2 separate regions of the Homo sapiens genome follow, and region 2 is linked to region 1. The links are contacts of gene promoters, found by promoter capture Hi-C in human tissues and cell types (Jung and others, 2019). All regions are on one chromosome and are shown on one strand. The core of a region is centred on a gene start or on the middle of the fragment in contact, and the rest is flanking DNA. Distances in the headings are between cores, read along the strand shown.

What was found. The method cuts DNA at HindIII sites, captures the fragments that hold promoters and counts their contacts. A contact is called where the count stands out against the background at its distance.
Region 2: a fragment that was not itself captured here is called in contact with the fragment with the promoter of CDH16 in region 1 in 2 of the 25 tissues and cell types used here (dorsolateral prefrontal cortex and mesendoderm cells).

The regions. Positions count from the first base shown.
Region 1 is chr16:66,917,142-66,920,517 of GRCh38, forward strand. CDH16 (cadherin 16) reads right to left here and starts at 1,744. Exons shown (of 18, transcript NM_004062.4): 1 at 1,663-1,744; 2 at 880-937; 3 at 501-584. The coding sequence starts at 924. The HindIII fragment of the contact is 12,408 bases long and covers 1-3,376 here.
Region 2 is chr16:67,100,943-67,104,318 of GRCh38, forward strand. It overlaps CBFB (core-binding factor subunit beta), which reads left to right. Exons shown (of 6, transcript NM_022845.3): 6 at 1-116. Among named protein-coding and RNA genes, the nearest start is that of PHAF1, 7.3 kb to the right of the region's middle. The HindIII fragment of the contact is 4,683 bases long and covers 1-3,376 here.

The sequences.
Region 1 (3,376 bases), core at 494-2,993:
AAAAAAAATTAGCCAGGAGTGGTGGTGCATGCCTGTAGTCCCAGCTACTCAGGAGGCTGAGGCAGGAGAATCTCTTGAACCCAGGACGTGGAAGTTGCAGTGAGCTGAGAACATGCTACTGCACTCCAGCCTGGGCGACAAGAGCGAAACTTCGTCTCAAAAGAAAAAAAAATGTATAACGTTACCTTCAGGCTATGTGTATAAGATGTATATGAAACATAAATGAATTTCCTATCTAGATTTGGGTTCCATTCCCCAAGATATCTCATGATATATATGCAAATATTCCAAAATCTGAAGAAAAAAAAAAATCCAAAATCTGAAACACTTCTGGTCCCAAGCATTTCAGATAGGGGACACTCAACCTGTGTAACGTGTACATACTCTCTGGAAAGCAGGATTTCAAAGAGAAACAGCAAGAGGAAGGGTGCCAGAGGAAGGAGAAGCAGGACTTTGCGGGGAGGGATCCCCCCGGCCCCAACCCCAGCTCTCCGGCTCACCTTGGTCAGGTATAAAGGGAAATTTCCACCATAGTTTTCTGGAACTTCCACAGACAGCTCTGCAGGCTGGGCCTTGGGGAGAGCCTGTGGGAGGATTCTCACCTTGTCACCAGGCTCTATCTTCCTGCGTGGGCACTGAGACCCAACAGAAGAGCGGAATTTCCGCCCCTTCCCAGGGCCTGGCTGTACCTTAGTCCATCCACCCGCGCTCTGGTCTTTGACCTCCTCATCCCACAGTGGCTCTATAGTCCCAGCTCTGACCCCTCCCATGCCTTGCACCGTTCTCACGGTCAGTGCAATTGGTCCAGGTGGAGTTGGGGGCAAGGGTGTCAACCCCCAAAGCCAAGACCTGAAGGAGAGGGGGCAGGGCCTAGCTCACCTGGGGGACGGAGACACAAAGCAGCCACAGCCAGGCAGGGACCATGGTCAGGACAGGCCTGAGGGACACGGCAGTGAGGATCCAGCCCAGGTGGGTAGGGAGGGGCTTTCCATCCCACACACACAACTAGTGGGATCGTACTGCAGACTAGTCTTCTCTTCCTCCCCTCCAAAGGAGCTGAGGCTCTCCATCTCCTGCAGGGTAGTGCCCTGCTCCTCGGCCAGGCCCACCAAGGCCCCCAGGCCCAGCCACCCTGCTTCTAGGCTCTTGGTCCATCAAGCACTCTATCAGAATTTCACCTCCAGACCTCCAGCTCCTTCTCACCATAGCCTCCCCAGGCCGCAGATCCCAAAGTGGTAATTTTCTAGCAATCCCCCAAATCACAAAAGTTTGAAGCTGGAAAGTTCCTGAAGACTTGGAGGGTCACTTCCTGAAGTCACCTCTTGTTGCAGGCAAGGCCTGAATGCTGGGGTCTGGCCAAGGTCACAGAGGACTTGACCACAGGAGGAGTCCTCCTAGCTCAGGGCCTCTGGGACTGTCCTGCCTCCCACTGCCACCTTCTAGACAAGGAGAACCCCCGGAGCAGGAGCCCGGCCCTTGTCTCATCATTTTCCAGCCCTTGTCATGGAGCTGGGCAGGCAGAGCAGCGACAAATCGACAACCCCTCTAAGATGAGGCCCTGGGAATTCTTTCCCAGATGGCGAGGACAGGGCAGTGTTTCTCCTTTCCCCACCACCAACCTCAGCCTCAGCCATGCCCTCCCCTCCACTCCCAGCCCCTCACCCTCCAGCGCCCAAGACTGGCTCCCTTGGTCCAGCTGCCAAGCAAGAAGAGAGCTCCTTCTCCAGGGGGCTCTGGCCAGGCTGGGCTGGGTGGGGCAAGGCAGGGCACTTGAGCAGGTAGGAGGGTTCAGCCACGCTTGCTCAGGAGTGGAAAAGGCCACTGGGCCCACAGCAGCAGGCCTGGCCCCGCCCAGCCCCCCAAGTTACTCATTGACTTTGGAAAGCCAGGAGCTGCTCAGCATCCGTGACTGCCAGCTCCAGGAGGTGGGGAGATGGTTGGCCTGGCACTCCCTCGACCCCAGCACAGCCCAGGAGGTATTCCTTGGCCCTCTGGTTCTGGACGTTACTTTTTCTGTGGCTCCAGACTTGGTCTGACTTATCTCCCAGGCTCCAGTGTCTGCAGCCACACCTTTTCACACTCTGTTCCTTTTGCATGGAACACCCTTCCCACTCATTCATCTGTGTGGTAAGCACCTGCTCATGCATGCTTCAGTGCTCAGCTCAAATATTCCTTTTTCCAGGAAACTTCCCCTATGTTCCCAGGCTTGTTCAGGAGCCTCCTCTGGGAATGCCCCTCCCCCTCACACCATGCCATGTGCTATCTCTATTAATACACAGAGGACACCAGCTTGTCATTGTCTGCCTCTTCCATTAGATTGGGAGCCCTTTGAGAGCAGAACTCAGGGACTCAGGAATGACCTGGCTCTCATTCTGCCCTGGCAGCTCCGCATGGCTTGTGGAACTAAGACAAGGAGCTGGAGGTTGCAAAGGATGGGTGAGCAGTACATGAGTGGAAGTGGGTATTGGGGCTCCAGACCACCCCCCCCAGGGGGACCTGTGGTGGGGGAGTGCAGCAGCCTATGAGCTCCCGAAGTCCTTACACTGGCCACTCAACAGTGACAGGGCTGAGACAGTGGGCAGTCTCATGCCCCTAAGAAGATTAAACTGGCTCAGGTGACCTTGAGGGAGTTGCAGGGCTGAACAGGGGCTCTCCCCGCAATGAGGGCAGCCAAGCAGAGCCAGGAGATGCTTCTGGGGCCTGGGAGTCTGGAATGAGGGGAGAGGGTGGGAAGAAGGTCTCCAGTCCCTCTCCAGCCTTGGAGCTTCCCATGGTCCCCACGAAGTCCTTCCCACTGTACATCTGATTAGTCTCTCTCAGGCCAGAAGCTACCCCCAGCTGCCCCCAGCCTTGTCACAAGCTGAGTGCCTGCTTCAGGGTCACTCTGGCACCCAGCCTGGAGCAGTGTAGTGTGGGGAGGTTGAAGGGGGTTTCACACGTGTTAAGCTCCTGCTCTGTGCCCAGCACTGCTCTGAGCACATACCTTCATTATGCCACATACTGCGTTCTGAAGGGGCATTGGGCACATGCTGGGGCACAGAGAAGCTGAGTGGTTTGCCTAGGGTCACACAGTCAATAAGTGACAGAGCCAGGAAGGCCTGGGGACCCTCACTTGATCTGAAAATACCATGCCTTCTGCATTCCTTGAAGTATGTGGGGAGGAGGGGCAGAGCAGCAACAGCTCTGAGCAGTTACCTCTGCCCTGGGGAGCACGTGGGTGAATCTCAGCGCTCCCCTGTACATGGAGGGGCAGCCCTCAAGCCTCCTCCTGCCATTCAATAAGCTGCAATCAGGATTCTAACCAGGTTGCCAGGGCTCCCTGGAGTCTGTGGAATGAATAAATTGAATAAATTGAACTAAGGAAGGAATGTATGGA
Region 2 (3,376 bases), core at 379-2,878, 180 kb after region 1:
AAATTCATCTCCATTAAAACTTGCCTTAAGCTACCAGATTGCTTTTGCCACCATTGGCCATACTGTGTGTTTGTTTGTTTAATTTACTTTCACAATAAACTTCTGTGTAGTAAAAACAGGGTCTTGGCTCTTTCTTGACCTAACCCAGTAATTTCTAAGAAAGCAACAACAGTGGCATCTAGTGGTAATTTCTGTTGATTCCAAAGAAGACTACTTTAAATATAGGTATCACAAGGTATACAAATCCCCCAGTGTATATTATGGTTTTCAAGAAATCTGGCTTGATTTACCCATCCTGTGAGATATGACCATAAAGTAGTGATGTTGGGAGAAAGAATTTTAAATTACACATCCAAATTAGTTCCATCTTTCAAGCTAGTTGTTTTGGAAATATACAGCCGTTTTGATTGTGCTGGTGTTATATCAAACATTCTTAAGACTCCTGGCATTTTCCTACAACAGAAAAGTAAGCCCTTTTCCTTGAAAGTATGCCTTAAGCTTGACACATGATAAACAGATTCACTCATTAACCACAAGACTTACTGCAAATGACAAAAATGCCTTTAAATTCTGAATTGACACCATTAAGGGAAATTCCAAAGAGTAGGATTCATGCTCTGAGAGTTAATTTCAAAAAATTGAGCAGTAACAGCATGGTTTTAGTAAGTATATCACTTCTAGAAACATAATTGGATATGCTAGCTCGGGGCTGCTTGGTGAAAAATATCTTACTTGATTTATGCCTCATTTGGCAATGAGGAGCTTTTCAATCTATAAACCATTGTATTATCCATAACACATTACCCCAAAACTTAGCAGCTTAAAACAATAAATACGTATTATCCCACAGGTGAGTCACAAATCTGGAAGTAGCTAAGATCAATGGTTCTGGTTCAGAGTTCCTCATAAGGTTAGAGTCATCCTGGGCTACAGTCATCTCAAGGATTGACTGGATGAAAGATCCCCTTTCAAACCCACTAATGTGGTCACTGACTGGCCTCGGTTCTTTGCAGCTTGCTAGATGAAAGGCAGATGTTCCTTGCTAGATGTTGGACAGAGACCTGCTTCCATTTCATGCCCAGCTGGGTCTTTCCATAGGACAGTGCACAGCAGGGTAGCTGGCTTCCCCCAAGGCAAGTGATCCAAGAGAGCGCACACCCAAGTTGAAAGCACAGTCTTTTTTTTTTTTTTTTTTTTTTTTTTTTTGAGATGGAGTCTCGCTCTGTTGCCTAGACTGACTGGACTGCAGTGCTGCAATCTCAGCTCACTGCAACCTCCCCCTCCCGGGTTCAAGCGATTCTCCTGCCTCAGCCTCCCACGTAGCTGGGATTACAGGTGCCCATCAACATGCCCGGCTAATTTTTGTATTTTTCATAGAGACGGGGTTTCACCATGTTGGCCAGGCTGGTCTCAAATTCCTGACCTCAAGTGATTCGTCCGCCTCGGCATCCCAAAGTGCTGAGATTACAGGTGTGAGCCACCATGCCCAGCCAAAAGCACAGTCTTAGAACTGAATCTTGGGCTGCCATATTGTATGTTAGAATCAAGTCACTGGGTCTGGTCCACACTCAAAGGGGGAGGAATATTAAGCTTCATCTGTTGAAGGCGGGGATGTCAAAGCATTTGTGGACATCTTTCTAAACCACCATGGTGATATTACCAAATATACGTAACTGAGTATAAGATACCTTTGGTGTTTTGCCGGGCGCGGTGGCTCACACCTGTAATCCCAGCACTTTGGGAGGCCGAGGCAGGCAGATCATGAGGTCAGGAGATCGAGACCATCCTGGTTAACGGTGAAACCCCGTCTCTACTAAAAATACAAAAAATTAGACGGGTGTGGTGGCGGGCGCCTGTAGTCCCAGCTACTCGGGAGGCTGAGGCAGGAGAATGGTGCGAACCCAGGAGGTGGAGCTTGCAGTGAGCCAAGATCGCACCACTGCACTCCAGCCTGGGCAACAGGGCGAGACTCCATCTCAAAAAAAAAAGATACCTTTGGTGTTTTAATCTAAACATTCTTTAAAGGTAAGATTTCAGTCTTGCAGATTTGAATACATGATTCCCCCTAGATAGCATCAACCCCTTTTCTTGCATCACCATCATATATTCATATATGGCATTTCAGAAATGTTCCAAAGCTAAAAAATGACAGTCACAGGGTGAAATCATGGATGGAAATGGCAGTTTAGTTTGTTTAAATATGGAATATTCTGAAACAGATAAGTCACTGTTTTAGTCAACTCCCAGCTTTTGGTTAGAAAATTTAAGCAACTTAGAATTAAGGTCGTTATTGGCCTCATTCAGATTTCAGAAATGTTGAGGAGATGTTGTAGATAAAAATAAAAGGCCAGGCACAGTAGCTCATATCTGTAATCCCAGCACTTTGGGGGGCTGAGGCAGGAGGATTGCTTGAGGCCAGGAGCTCAAGACCAGCCTGGGCAAGATAGCAAGACCTTCATCTGCACAAAAATATTTTTCTTAATTAGCCAGGCATGGTGGTGCACACCTCTAAGTCCCAGCTACTTGGGAGGCTGGAGTGGGAAGATCGCATGAGCCGAGGATTTTGAGGTTGCAGTGAGCTATGATCTTGCCACCGCACTCCATCCTGGGCCACCAGAGCAAGATATTACCTATAAAAATAAAAATGGAAAATGTTGAAGTTCTATTTTTTTTTTGGAGACTAAAAGTATGGTTATCATTTAGGGGGGGAAATATCCAGTGTCCAAAATAAACATGTTCCCTGCTCACAAGGAATCTACAGTCTAGCTAAAAAGCTGACCAAAGGCAGTAACACTGTTTAAGTTACATTAGAAGTACTGGCTCTTATAGTACATCTATTCTAGTCTGGGTGGTGAATAAAAGCTTCCCTAAAGAGATGTTTTGAGGGTGGGTGCGGTGGCTCACGCCTGTAATCCCAGCACTTTGGGAGGCCGAGGCGGGTGGATCACAAGGTCAGGAGATCAAGACCATCCTGGCTAACATGGTGAAACCCCGTCTCTACTAAAAAATACAAAAAATTAGCTGGGCGTGGTGGCGGGCGCCTGTAGTCCCAGCTACTTGGGAGGCTGAGGCAAGAGAATGGCATGCACCCAGCAGGCGGAGCTTGCAGCGAGCCGAGATTGCACCACTGCACTCCAGCCTGGGCGAAAGAGTGAAACTCCGTCTCAAAAATAAAAAAAGAGATGTTTGAGCTAAGATCTGAAGGATGGCAGACCTTAAGCTAGCTAGAGAAGGTATTGCAGGTAGCTAGCCAATAGCTTGGCAAGTTTGAGAAGCTAAGAGCAGCTGAGTATGACTGGAACAGAAAAGAGGGGGCTGCAGCAGTGAGATGAATCCAGAAGGGCAGATTCCACCCAGCAGAGGGCAGGGTAAGAGT